Linked DNA regions of Homo sapiens: all the other regions are linked to region 1. The links are contacts of gene promoters, found by promoter capture Hi-C in blood cells and fetal thymus (Javierre and others, 2016). All regions are on one chromosome and are shown on one strand. Each heading gives the region's core, a stretch centred on a gene start or on the middle of the fragment in contact. The rest is flanking DNA. Distances are from core to core; before and after follow the strand shown.

What was found. The method cuts DNA at HindIII sites, captures the fragments that hold promoters and counts their contacts. A CHiCAGO score of 5 or more calls a contact.
Region 2: a fragment that was not itself captured here is called in contact with the fragment with the promoter of OXR1 in region 1 in 2 of 17 cell types (activated CD4 T cells and naive CD4 T cells); the score reaches 6.1 in activated CD4 T cells.
Region 3: a fragment that was not itself captured here is called in contact with the fragment with the promoter of OXR1 in region 1 in 1 of 17 cell types (fetal thymus); the score reaches 7.3 in fetal thymus.

Annotation. Positions count from the first base shown.
Region 1 is chr8:106,267,573-106,272,365 of GRCh38, forward strand. It overlaps OXR1 (oxidation resistance 1), which reads left to right and starts at 2,618. Exons shown (of 17, transcript NM_001198533.2): 1 at 2,618-2,795. RefSeq lists silencers at 2,343-2,592, 2,613-2,972. The HindIII fragment of the contact is 2,469 bases long and covers 2,165-4,633 here.
Region 2 is chr8:109,534,466-109,539,258 of GRCh38, forward strand. It overlaps PKHD1L1 (PKHD1 like 1), which reads left to right. Exons shown (of 78, transcript NM_177531.6): 78 at 1-2,742. Among named protein-coding and RNA genes, the nearest start is that of EBAG9UORF, 2.9 kb to the right of the region's middle. The HindIII fragment of the contact is 518 bases long and covers 2,647-3,164 here.
Region 3 is chr8:109,330,594-109,335,386 of GRCh38, forward strand. It overlaps NUDCD1 (NudC domain containing 1), which reads right to left and starts at 3,494. Exons shown (of 10, transcript NM_032869.4): 1 at 3,300-3,494. The coding sequence starts at 3,417. ENY2 (ENY2 transcription and export complex 2 subunit) reads left to right here and starts at 3,754. Exons shown (of 5, transcript NM_020189.6): 1 at 3,754-3,881. The coding sequence starts at 3,876. RefSeq lists enhancers at 3,186-3,235, 3,366-3,415, 3,598-4,520, 3,786-4,035. The HindIII fragment of the contact is 308 bases long and covers 1,906-2,213 here.

The DNA.
Region 1 (4,793 bases), core at 1,368-3,867:
CCTTTTTTTGTCCATGGGGAAACAGGCCAGTCTATGAGTTTACTGGTTATCCATTATTTCCATCTTGCAAACATCCCCTATTCCTTCTTTTGCTAACCAAATACTTTTTTCCCTTTTGAGAATCTTTCATCCCCAAGAGGATGCAGGTGGTTGATTGTGTGAGCCAGGACAGCCAATAAGAGTACACCTTCAAAGATTGATCTGCTCAACAGAACAAGAGACTTGATTTCTTTGTAAGGTTACAAAATTTGTCAACTGTGTAGGGCTGGCACTATGGACATAATGTGAGGGGAATGAAACCAACACAGGAAGCAATGCCGAAAGCAAGTTAGAGAAAGAGAAAATCATATTCTTCCTAATGTTGTTAAGCCCAGGACAAGCCCTGCTATTTCTAGTACTTCTGAGTTACACGGGTCAATGCATTTTCTCTGCCTAAGTTAGAATTGCATCCCTGTCACTTGTTACTTCGAGTCCTCAATGCAGTACGTTTTTGAGCTACACTTTTCCATAGGACACCAAAGAGACTTTGAAATCAAGATTTTCCCTGTTTCATGATTATGGGTAGTGTGCATGCTGTAGCATGAAGATGTTCAGAGTGCCATACCACCTTAAGAATAATTACTGAAAGAGGAAGAATGAAAGCAACCAGGATGAAAGTAAAGTTTATTTTTCACCTTCCTTCACCACTGATAGAAAGGAATGATTTGTGTTGATAGTCTAAGGAAATTCACATTTTGATCTCCCAATGAATCACCTATGGAAAATTAGAAACATGATGTTGTCATTATAAAGTGGCCCTGGTCCTGCAGATAATATTTGCAGCTTCAGTAAAAAAGTAAAAGATCAAACCTTAATTGATTACTTATTTTGGGGTGCACATGGCACTAAATTGCAAGTGGGGATGGAAGGGCGCAAATATCTTAGGAGGGAGGACATCTTGACCCAAATAGACAGATTCCACTACAGTTCTATGAAAAAATCACATGTACATTACTTAGTAGGGTTAGCAAAGTCTAACTAATTTATAATACTGGGAAAACAAAGTAGCTTTATCACAGAGTCTGAACTGAGATAATTATAAAATACATACCTAGTCTATACATTGCTTGTAGAAGATTCTCAGTAAAATCTTTCTGATAGAATAAAAATTAAACGCTATCAGTTTCAACATAACAGAAAATTTAAGCTGCGAATGCTCGTAAAGAAATTAGGTAAAAATAATGGAGAACAAAACCCGCAATCGGCTTATCAATCGGCTTACTGTTGACACGCCACGCCACTCAGAATAGTATCTAATTTTCTTGATCCCTTATCTCAGGTAAAGCTATTGACTCGGGGAAATAGGTTATGCGGAAACCATGAAAGTTTCTAGTCTGGCCGACCCTAGGTTCAACACTCTATTATTCCAGACAAGCGATGAGCTCCTGTCGCTAAATTTCAACATCCCTGTCTGTCAAATGGGAATAATAATGATTCTCTCATTGGGTGGCTGTGAGAGGTGAGTGAAACAAGACGGAAATTTGACCCAGGAAATATCTGTACCTCTTACTTTAAAGAACAGAATTAAAAAATAATAATAAATGATCAGAAATTAAGGTAGAATAGAGTGAACACTAATAGCGGGAAATAGCTAATTTGCAGGTGAGGTGGCTGAAAGGCTCCTACGCTTGAAGTGTTTGCTGGATGCACAGGAGATCTGGGATACATCCCGAACTCGGCAACAGGACCAGCTCCTTTCCTCAGGGTTACAGAACAGCCAGGTTCCAGTTCAGGTCTGGGAATCTACCCATCCAGAGTTTGCGCCCTTTTCGTTTTGCAATTTAAAACCGGGTTGGAGGGGGAAGGAGTGAAGGCAGCATGCGGAGAAAGTAAATTACAGTTCAGGTGACAGGAACAAGAAAATCTCCAAGGTCAGGGTGGGGTGTCAACGAATTATGCAAAACACTGCGGAATGAGGAGTCACAAACGCCTTGCAAAGAATTCTGAATTTTAGAAGCTCTTTGCAGAACCCCCTTCAGCCCGCTCCAAGCTGCCTTGGGTCCCTTTCTAGGCTGTCAGACTTCGCCTTCCTTTCCTCCTTGTTTTTCCCAGCAACCAAAGCATCTGAAGAACATTTTTTTCCTCCGTAAATCTGAACAAATTTCCTTGCAGCTTTCCTTGCAGAAGCTTTTTTATCGCTTTAACAAAACTTTCCTCTGCTTCTCTAGGGAGAGCCTAGTATTAGAGCTGCCCGACAGGCGGGACCCCGAAATCGGGGCAGCTCTGGCTTAGTCCAGGCTATTCGAGTGGGCGCCTGAACTGGAGGCGCCGTCTCCACCGGGATGGGGATCCTAGTGCAGGCAGACGCCTGGCAGGACTCGGCGAGCTGGGGTCCCCACCGCGGTAGCCAGAGCAGAAACCCGAACCCCAGCCAGAGGGGCCGCGCGCGGGGAGGGGTGCGCGCTAAGCCAGCGTGGCTTCCGCAGGAGCTATTTTTAGCGGTGCGTGCCTCCCCCCGCCCCCGGCGTGGTAGCCTCCGGCTCGCGGCGCCCCACGGCTCCTCTCAGTCTCCCCCGCCGCTGCCGGCTCTTGGTAGCTTCCACGCGGGCAGGTCCGGAAACTGAGCATGTCTGCAAGCGCTCAGCGGCGCCGGCAGCAGCGGGGCTAGAGCTGGGCTGCGTCAGGCTGAGCCCATTCACCTCGCGGCCACAGGAGCTCAGCGCCGGCGCCGCGCCGCCCAGCCCCGCCGAGAGGGGCGCACTCGCCGCCGCGGGGCCCGCCGCCGCTCACCGCAGCCCCCTCCTGGCGACCCGCAAGTAAGTTTGTGAGGCTGCTGGGCGTTAGGGCGAGGGCTTGGCGCCCGGGGGAGTCCAGGAGGGATAGCGAGAGGCGCGGCTGGCGCCCGGGAGAGCCGGCTGGCCTCTGCCCCCTGTGCCTGGCGCCTCTCCGAGCCACTTAGCCAATTTGAAAGCGGGTGGCCATTGGGATGCTCGAGCGGGGACGACGGGCAGAGCAGGAGGGCAGAACTAGCTCCAGCGGGGGCCCAGAGGGCGGACTTGGGAAGAAGGAAAGACCGCGCGGCGAGGGAGGAGACCGGGCGGCGAGGGAGGAGACCGGGCGGGGAGGCTGGGTTTGGGGCGCGGGAGCCCGGCCAGGGACAGCCGCAGAAGGAAAGTGGGGGTGTCGCCGGGGGATAGAGTGGGAGCAGCGTGAGAGCAGTGTTGGGGGCGCAGAGTGGAGGGCAAGCGTGTCTTGAACAGAACGGCAGGAGGATGGGTGGAAAGTGGGGCGCGTGGAAAGCGGATTTGGACGAGAGCAAAGGACGCCGGTGGAAGGGACAGTGGGCTCCGGAGGGGCGAGTGGATTCGGATAATTTGGGGAATCAGTAAAAGGCTAGGGGGCACATCATGATGGAGTCAGCCTGGAATCTGTCTCCCGCTAGAGTACCCGAGGCCACATGTTGGGAACTGGCTGGGGAAAGGATGGATGTAGAAAGTGGCCTGGAGGGCCGACTGGAAAATCGCTGAGGGATTTGGGTGAAGAGGGGGGGAGCTGTGCAGTATCGGGCGGAGGAACTGGGCTGCTGGTAGGGCCTGAAAGGTTCAGGAGAGGGTTGGAGGCTTCCCCGTGCCGCCCCTTGAATAGTGATTTAGTACTGTTATCTGAGGTTCACTTTCACCCCTGGCTCCTCCTCCGTCTACTACCCGGCTTGGACGCACCTCGGCTCGCTGTAGGCGAGCTTTAGGAGATTTAAATAGACATTAGGCAGTGGGGAAGGTAGTCGTTTACGGGGGGAGCTGCTCGGGCTTCCGTTCAGTGGTTCCCGGCACGCTCAGGGTGCAGTGTAGGGTCTGAATGTGTGTATTGCGGGGGTAGGGGGAGTGGTGTCAGTTCTAGGCCACAGGAATTCGTGGTCTGGCCCCAGAGGTGCGGTGTTTTTGGCCGGGAAGTCAGGCAGAAGTCTGCAGCGTGCAACTCGCAGCGGGGCGTGTGTGTGCGTGTGTGCGCGCGCGTGTGCATGTTTCCGGCCCGGGGTCGCGTGTGTGGCTGCAGCCTGTCTCCGTGACAAGAAGATCCAGGGATCTACGGGCGGCACGGGGAAGGGATTAAGGGGAACATACTTCCCTACGTCTTTTCTGCCTCCTTTTCCCAGGGTAGCATTCTTTGCTTATCCAATGATGCCTCTTTCTAACCTCTCCCTCTCCACTTACATCCCAAACCTGATGCGGGTCTTCTCTGATTCGGCACTCTAAGGAGGACTCAGCCGCCGGCTGCGACCACCGTGGACTCCCTCTATGGAAGGGAATCCTGGGAGTCCCGGCCGTCAGAGGGGTTCCCAAATCCAAAGGGTCCATCTCCAAGGCGTCACTCCAGGGGTCCGCGGTTCACTTTGCTGCCCCTTGCAGGTGATGCTGTGATTGTTGCCTGCGGACTGGGAAGCACGATGGCTCCAAAAGGCCAGCGGGGCCGAGAAGCAGGGACAGAGACCAGCATTTAAGGGATCTCTGGTGGGGGCCTCCCTGGAGTTCTCCACATGTAAATATAGCGAAAAAAGAAAACACTACGTTACTAGAATAAACACGTCCTAAAATTTCTGTGCAAAAACACCTTTTTGAACAGCAAAGATTTCACCCACCAAAACAAGGAAGCAAGAAGCTTCCACAGTGTGCAGGATCCGAAACAGGACCGGCCCGGCGTTGGGTGAGAGTGGGGGAGGGGTTGTCGGCTTCTCCATCCAGCTTGCCATGTTCTGTCGTCGGTTTCACATTTTCAGAGAGACTTTACCAGATGCAGGAAATGAGGATGAAGGCAAC
Region 2 (4,793 bases), core at 1,656-4,155, 3.3 Mb after region 1:
AAAAAAACCCAAAAAACTTTAATCTGAATCCATTATGTGTTGGGTTGGGTTGGGGAACCTACCAAAACAGTGGGAGAGTCTTGCCCTTTTTCTAAGATCATCAGTGGGCATTTTCAGCTTCCCCATTATGGTAGTAGCTGCAAGGAGTGTTCAGTCTCCAGTGAAAGAAATATTAAGATTTATTCCCCCAATTTCCCCTCCCCAGAGAGTAGCTACAGACACACTGTGTAAGACCAAATAGGAAAAGTCTGCCACAGGGGACACAGTAGGTACTTGAATACTTGTGGGCAGTCTAACCAGCTACAAACCTCTTGTTGCCGTACTTGCAAGTCCTAATACAGTACTGTAGTTATTATAATTCCATCATTCTGAAATTAGAAAGATGGTCATGGAGAAACTGTTCTAAGAACGCCATTCACCCATGAATGTGACTTTATTAGAGGTTTTTTTTTTAGGTTAAGGACTATGTATTCTTTCAATTTCTCTAAAGTGCTTAGCACACACTCTGCCCATGGTAAGTGTTAAATAAACTTTCTGATAAACCAATGATTGGGTAGCATGATGAAACTTTTCCTATCCTGCTTTTTGAGATTAAGAAATCTTTTAAAAATATTACAGAAACTGCACTTTATCCTGACTTACAGCCTTAATGTTTGAAGTAGCAGTGTATAAAATTCACACCCAGTTATAGACTGAGTAATTATAGTTGCTATGGTAATGGGCTCTGTGCCTATGAGCAAAAAAAAAAAATTCCTTTTGTGCAAGATATTTATGACTGTGCCTGGCTACATGGCAATAGTATTTTCCTTTGGTTTTTCATTACAGTAACTTATGCATTTAGGCAGATGATCCTTTATATATGTAAACGCTATAAATTCTTAGGAAGAAAATAAATTTATTAAGTTTTTCACATCAAAAATTTCTAGTATGATTATGAGTTCAATTTTCAAGTGAAAGTAATCCTTAAAGGATTTAATTTCAAATAAGAACTACGTACAAAATATAGATTTAAATTAATTTTCACTGTATGAAATGTACAGTATACATAGACCAACTCCTTTAACAAGAATTTCTGGTATGTCTTAAAGGGCATGGGTGGTTAGAGGGAGATCCCCAAACAAACAATTCAAAATTAAGAGTTTAAAAAGCAACAATCAAGACACATATCCTCCTAAGTGAATTTGAATTAGACACTGGAAAATTTAAAAAGGTCAGTTACTATGAAGAAGGTGTAACAATATTTATATTAATCAGACAGCAAAGTAACAAACTGACTTAGAGGAAGGAAAATAGTAAAATACAAAAGACTAAGTTAGCAGATCATTTTGATATCCAGATGTGCTGAAATGATGGACACTGAGAAGAAAGAATAGACAAAACTTGGCAACAGATCTTGGTATGAAATAAATATCCCATGAGTAGTACATAAAAGCCTGGAGAGAGAGGGGAAGGATTGTAAGTGTCATAGTTCTGACAGCTGCTCTTTCATCCTATGCCTTTAAAACAAAGGGAACAAAGAAGGGAACAAAGAAGGTAGAAGCGGGGGTATGGAGGGTTGACTTCTGGCTGTCCCTCCCTGTTTCCCTTTGTTAATATATTGCTAGTAGACATGTCTACTTCTGGTTGCTGATGACATAAAATTCACCTCTATTTCTTGGAAGCACTATTCCATGTTGTGAGCTAAAGGGGATTGTACTGATCTTGAAGATAACAAATCTGCCTGCTTCAAAGGTTTCACCGATTTTATTGCTGTGTTTCCAACACATTTCCACATATGGTATGATATTTAATTTGCAAAATAAATCCGTAAAGCAGGAATTACTAACCTAATTTTGCAGATGAGAAAACTGAGGCTTAAAGTTGTTCAAGGTCAAAGTCACGATGTCCATCATGCTGTAGCTCAATGAATGAGTCTCACATTGTTTCATGTTGTTTTATTTCTACTTTCTCAATCCATGTACAAGATAGATTTACAAACTACTGTTTTATGTTGGTTGTATGAATTTCAATACATTTACTGTTAGAAATAACAAAAGGTCTTAGACTGCCAGATGCTGTTCCCATCAACTCTACTTAATTCATAATATAGCTGAACTCTGTCATAAATCTAATAACGATGTGGACATTAGCCAGAAGTATGATGTGGCTGAACCTCACCACTGAACACAAAATGAGAATTCACCTCATCTTTTCATTTGAATTTATTTCTACTAAAATATATGTATTATTTTTCTTGATTTCTAACCAGGCCCCTTCTGAAGAAAACTGGTTAACTCTAAATTGTTACTAAATTTTGAATCTTCCTGTATTTAGCAATAAAAGTTACTGCTAATTGTAATAACAATTATGAGGAAAAATTTATTTAAATGCTTCATAGAAAGTTAATTTTCATTTAATAGAAAAGAAATAAAAAATCTGCTTCAGACTGTTTGATTTCTCTATTAGGCAATTGACCCTAACTAGTATATGGTGATTTTGAGTATTAAAAAAGAAGTTATAATTTTCCAGAATATTAATGTTTATTATTTTGAAAGCAAGTAAAATTCTCCAGTAGGAAGATTAATAAAACAATTCATTAAAATTCTCATCAGAAAATCCTATGCTTTCAAATGTATCTGCTCAAAGATGTCACTCTATGTGCGGCAAAGCTTTGTTTTACTTGATCAAGAAATGAATGTGACTTTATGATCTTGTATTCAACTGTGAACAGCTGCTCATTAATAAAAAGCCATTAAAGTCCAAGTCAGAACAGCAGGTCTAAAATTGTGTTTGAGGGAAAAAAAACCCACCCTTTGATGAAAAGCCAGGGAACTGGGTTGGGAAAGATCTGGAAGCAGAGGGCTGTGTTTGCAGTCTGCTCCTACCTCCTGGGCCAGGTCAGGTGACAAGGCCAGAGTTAGCCCCAGCTGGAGAAGTCAGAACAAAGCCTATGTAGGCTTTGAAAGGGGAGAGTAAGTGGTGGGCTGGAGGTTGATAGTGTGAATAAATCAAGCTGGTAATTGGGCAGAGGCTGATCAGAAGCGTTAAAGTGAGCAAAATGGTTTGGACACAGAGCAGACAGAATTTACTATATTCCATTGAGTAAAAGAAATTCATATGCCAGGTTCTATCCCTTATGTTCCTCCCATTTGACATCTGGTGGTTTCCTACCCCCGTCCCACACAAGCTTTGGGGAGAGGACAGGACTTAAAGTTCCCTGTTCCCAAGAGGTGGTCCCTAAACCCAATCCCAAATTATTGACTTGTGATCCCAATTATGGGCTTACTATTTAACAAGTAAAGATGATTTTAAAATATTATTTTATAGGTATTACTAAAGTAAATTTTAAATTTGCAGTCTTTAGCGAGCTTTGTTTTCTGTTTTGCTATTGTGTTGGGAAACAAGTACTCAGTAACTAGCTGTTTCTGGAAAAGTATATACATTTCGTTTTGTTTCATTTGGAAATGGCAAATTTAATAAAGAAAACTGAAGAATCAGGAAAAAGAAGAAAATATCCTTGGGCATAATAAATTGTCTAAAGCAATCAACTCTTTAAGAAAAAAAATTTAAACACGTTTATATCCGAATATAGGTTATTTTGGATTTTTTTTTTTTTTTTTTTTGAGTCAGGGTCCTGCTCTGTCTCCCAGGCTGGAGTGCAGGGCCCAATCATGGCTCACTGTAGTCTCGACCTCCCAGGCTCAGGTGATTCTTCCCACCTCAGCCTTCTGAGTAGCTGGGACTACAGGCATGCGCCACCAAACCTGGCTAATTTTTAAATTATTTGTAGAAACGGAGTTTCGCCCGTTGCCTGGGCTGGTCTTAAATTCCTGGGCTCAAGCGTTCCTCCTGCCTCGGCCTCCCAAAGTGCTGAGATTACAGGCATGAGTTACCGTGCCCAGCTAGATAACTCGATTTTTTAAATCCAAAAAAAATTTAGAAATTTTATATTGAAATTTAGGCATTAGAATTCTAGAGATTAAAGTTAGAGCAGGTGTTTAAGGGACTGAAAGGGGTTGCATGGCCTTTGGGAAATGCAATTACCGGAAATGATACTGTAGTAATGCAATAGTAATGCAGTAGTAGTAGTAGCTGCAGCAACAACTGTTATCTATGAATGTTTGCTATGTGCCAGGCTCTGTGCTAAGAGAGCTTTGCAAGCATTACTACTGCATGAAGTAGGCACTATTATGGCCATTTTACTGATGAGGAAATTGAGGTGAACAGATTAAATAATTTTACCCAACTTTACACAGAACCATTCCAGAGCACGAGCCATAAACACATCTTTCCCGTCTTGGAAATTAAATTATTAATAAAAAACGTGGTGCAAATTGGAAAGAGGACGGTTGTGGTAGATTATCACAAAGTTAAGTGGGTAGGTGGTTGCTGGGTCAGGGTGGGAGAACAAAGGCAGCTGTAATAAAAAAAAAAATTAAAGGCATATAAAGAAAAAGGCTTGTTGAGAACAATTTGCATAAACTGATTTTGGCCTTAGACCCTATTCACTTCTCCCTCACCAGTCACTTTGCAACTGTGGAGCATAGTATTCTGAGGGTCCCCTGCACATAACAACCCCTTTCATAGCATACAAGATAAAAAGAAGAATCAGGCTGCAAAGAGAGAAGCACTGAAGGAAAGAACATCTCAGGTTGAAAGAAGGGCAAGTCCAGGGTGCATGTGAGGAACAAATGCATGGACACGGTGAAGTGCCACTTCTTCATTTCTAGTTCAACACAATTCAATTAAAAATTACTGGGAGGAGGCTACGTCTTGAATTAAACTCAGCATTCCACATCTTTGAGGTGGCGGAA
Region 3 (4,793 bases), core at 810-3,309, 3.1 Mb after region 1:
TCTTCCAAACTCAACCTCCACAGAGTCTGAGGTAAGCTTTTCAACTCCCGTATCTGTTCACGTCCCTTGTACTTAAAATGTGGTACACATACGCCATGGAATACTATGCAGCCATAAAAAGGAACACAATCATATCCTTCAAAGGGACATGGAAGGAGCTGGAAGCCACTGTCCTCAACAAACCAACGAAGGAACAGAACACAAAACACCACATGTTCTCACTTGTAAGTGGGAGCTGAATAATGAGATCACATGGACACAGGGAGGGGAACAACACACACTGTGGTCTGTCAGAGAATGGGGTAGGGGGAGGGAGAGCATTAGGAAAAATTGCTAATGCATGCTGGGCTTAATACCTAGGTGATGGGTTGACGGGTGCAGCAAACCACCATGGCACACGTTTACCTATGTACCAAACCTGCACATCCTGCACATGTACCCCGGAACTTCAAAGAAAAAAAAAAATCGGTCGGAGCAGTGGCTCAGGCCTGTTAATCCCAGCACTTTGGGAGGCCGAGGCAGGTGGATCGCGAGGTCAGGAGTTCAAGACCAGCTTGGCCAAGATAGTAAAACTCCGTCTCTAATACAAAAATTAGCTGGGCTTGGTGGCGGGCACTTGTAATCCCAGCTACTCCAGAGGCTGGGGCAGAGAACTGCTTGAACCCGGGAGGCGGAAGTTGCAGTGAGCTGAGATCGCGCCACTGCACTCCAGCCTCAACGACAGAGACTCCGTCTCAAAAAACAAAACAAAAACAAAAAGAAACAAACAAAAATTAGCTGGGCATGGTGGCGGGCGCCTGTAATCCCAACTACTCGGGAGGCTGAGGCAGGAGAATCGCCTGAACCCGGAAGGCAGAGGTTGCAATGAGACGAGATCACACTACTACAGTCCAGCCTCCGCAATAGAGCAAGACTCAGACTCAAAAAAAAAAAAAAAAAAAAAAATCTTCAAATGGCACCTGATATCCTGCAGCTGTACATCCCAAACACAGAATCTAAGATTAACGCTGATGAAATGAGTACGGAACAAGGACAACTTTGTGAATTTTTTCTAAAGTTAAAGTATTCAATGGATTGTTTATTGTGAGATTTTGCTTCCTGCTTTTTTGGTGTTAAAATATCCTTTTGTTTATGAAAAGATAGATGAGTAAATGATAGTTTTTAAGAAACATCTCCACCTAGTAAACAGAAAAGTTGGCAGAACTACAGCAGCTGAGTTTTATTTTATATTGTAATGGCTCAATACAAAAATGTCAGGGAAACACTGAATGACCGGAAATCCAAGAAATCCAAAAGGCAAACAAGGCCCTCACTGATTTATTTCCTCTCACTTTCCCAGACGTTTTGCTCCAGCAATATAAGAGTGCAAGGATGTCCAGCATACAACCTACTAATTATTTCCCTTTCCTCATGCTTTCCCATGAATGGAATGACCTCAACAATTTCTTCTCTTCTTCATATACTCATTTTATTGAATACATCCTATGTGCCAAGCACTAGATATAGGGTAGTGAACAAAAGAAAAACATCACTGTTTTCAAGGAACTCATAGTCTAGTGGAGGAAACAGACAACAAATCAAGATAGAATTTAAAAGGCCGATAAGTACGTCTTATGGAGAATGCAATGACGAAGCCCAAAAGTGAAGGCAGGAAGGCTAGTCAGGAGGCTACTAGAGTTCAGGTAAGAGATAACTCTGATTTGGATTAGGGTGGAGGCCTAGAGATATCAAAATGTGGAGCTGACCGGACTTGCTACCAAGCAGACAGTGGCTAAAAGAAATAAACCCCAAATGACTCTGGCACAAGTGTCTCTTGGTACCAACCTGGGCTAGTCTAGTCGGCTAAAGGATAAGAGACCACACGGAGAAAAGTCAAGAGGAGACCATGTGAAAGAATCTTAAACAAGCTTATAGTCTGAGACCCTACCCCCACCCTCCAAACATATGAGGAAGTCCAGCCAAATGAGCAGAGCTTCCCAGCAGATCCATTACTGAACAAGGATGCATCAATGAGCCCAACTAGGACTAGAAGAACCACTCAGCTGACCCGTAGACTTGTGAGCAATAATAACTGCTTCTTGTTTTGAGACACTGAATTTTGGCTTCACTTTCTAATGCACTAACTAAACATGGTGATACCATCTACTGACATGGGGTGACTGGAAGAAACACGGTGGCAAAGAGGAAAAGGAAAAAAATAAAAAGAAAAATCAAGCTTATCCTCTCTCATCCTAGTCAACTCTTAACCTACCCTTCAAAGCTCAACTTAGATATTAACTCCTCCAAGACGCCTTCCCAGATCCCCAGACTAGTTTAGGAAAGATATTCAAGTACTACCATTGTATTTTGTACATATCCCTATCACTGCCTTCCCATATTGTTTTACAATTATCTGTTTACAATTTTCTTCCTAACTAGCTAATAGTCCTCTTTTGTTACGGAAGGTGTCTTGTTCATTTTGATATTATCAGGACGTAACACAAAACAGGTACTCGGTAAATATTTCTGAATTTAATAAATCAATTAGCATAAACTTATTTTATACTTTAATGTCTGTTATTATAATTAACTGTAGATCACTATTTCTCAAAGTGTGATCTCTGAAAACATGCATCAGAATCAGCAGGGGTGTGAATTTTAAAATGCAGATCTCTGGGCTCTATCATAACGAAAATGCCGTTAAGTTGTAAAAACAAGAGTAAGGATATTCTACCAGCTACAGATAAAGCAAGGAGTAGCAGTGTGGGAGTAAATCCACTTTTCCTCACTATCTTCTAGAGATGTTCTCTACCAGAGTTCTTAATGTGCCAGGAACTGAGTAATTAAAAATGCTATGACTGGAATGTAGTTTCTCTTCTAAGAAACGGCTCTCGGTCAGAGGAAACAGGAACTGGGGGTCCTCCAAGGAGGTGTGGTTTCTCAACGCACACGTTCACAAGCGATGCTCCAGGAGGAAGGAATGTTCTCAGCGTCCCCCGAAACAGAAGCCAGGCTGTGGACACACAGCAGCCAGAGCCCCAGGCACTACCCGCACGCCAGCCCTCAGACCTCAGACCTCAGAGGCTGGGCTGCTGACGGAGGGGGCCCAGGGTCCCGTTACCGAAGAGCGCGCGAAGGCGGCTCCCACCGGGTTCTGGGATGGGCATCATTCCCCAGAAGCAGCGGCCTCCGTGAGTCCACGCAAGCCGCCACGGTGGCTTCGCTTGCCAGTCAGAAAGAAAGAAATTGCGGGAAGGGTCAGGCCGGAGGCAGCCGAAAGGGGAAAGGAACGGAGTACGAAGGGCGCCGCCGCTTCCCACCTGCGTCAAGCTCCAGCTGGTAACAAGGCAGCGGCTCAAGAGAGAGCTTGTAACCCTCGAAGCGGGGATCCAACAGAGGTCTCTTCACCCGTAGGGAGCAATTAGCCGCCACCTCCATCGCTTTCCAGGGCCGCAGCGTGAGAATTAATAAAGCCCTTGTTGAAAGGTCCGCGCTTCACGCCTCGCACAGAGACTGGGAAGCGGCGTGGTTCCCATCCCAGAAAACACTGCGGTGCGAACTGCCTTCTGGGAAATGTAGTGTCCGTGAAAAAGTTGAGACTGTTGCATGCTGGGCTATGTAGTTCTCCTGGTACTTAACGCGCGCGCGACGGCAAGGTCTGAACTCTGTTACCCAGAGGCCCTAGCAACCAGGAGGCGGCCCGCGCTGGTTAAATTCTCACATTATAGGCAGGGTGGCGAGACCCCGCCCCGGAAATGCGTGTTCTAGCTTTCTGTGTGCTTAGGTGCCCGAGCTACTGAGGGTCTAAGTCCGGGCAGCCGAAGAGTGTGGTAGGTAACGGTCCTCAGCGCAAGGGTCATTTCGTCGCTGGGAAGGGACGGCCCTCGCCCGCGGTGATGGTGGTGAGCTATGCCCGTGGTCCTCAGGGCCGGGACCCGGGCCCAGCCCAGGCTCCTTTCGATGTACTGTCTTTCGTTAGCGTCCCCGACCCGCGCTCGCGGGCCTGTAGGGCTCTCCGACAGGGCGTGCTACCGGAGTTGGCCTGAAACCAGTCCTCGCTTTGTTTTCTGGCTCCTCCTCTCCCGCCTCTCCCGCTGTCTCCGCCCTGTTCTATTTTCCCTAAGAATGTCTGAACTGGGAGGGATACCCTAGCGCCCTTGTTTTACCAGTGAGAAAACTGAGGCCTTTAAGAATTAAGTGACTTGTCCAAGGTCACTATCCGTATTTTAGGAGCCAAGACGAGATCAAGTTCAATATTCCAGGAGTGGTACTGACTAGACCTTGTAGTTATTTTGAAAATGTTAGCCTCCAATTACAAAAGCAAGCATTTCCTAGTTCTCACTCAACTTCTCCTTTTCCCTGTTCCTCTCAAAAAAGAAAAAAAAAATCAACTCTGGTAACTCATTGCCAGTCTGAATTTTCAATAGGCCAGATGGAAGACAACAAAAGTAATCTCAAGTTAGTGACAGATTAGGTGGGAAAACGTTAGTTTACGCCAAGTTTTATTTAATTTAAACTTTTAAGTGGCTTTAACGCTTTCAAAACCTAACTTTCCTCTTCTTTCAACATCATTTTGGTTTGGGTTGTCTGTTTTTACTGACAATTGAGGACTTTGTAAGTTAGGAATTAGTTTGAGATTTGTTTTCTTCTTATCCCACCAGCAGTGTGTGTGTAAACACACACATCCACACACTTAGGTTTAGCAGTTGTAATTGTGGGTTCATCCTAGTGAAGAGTAAAGCAAAACACTTAGAGCCTTATCTAGTAATTTTATTTTTTTTGATTAATTAATTTTTTTTTTTTTTTTTGAGACA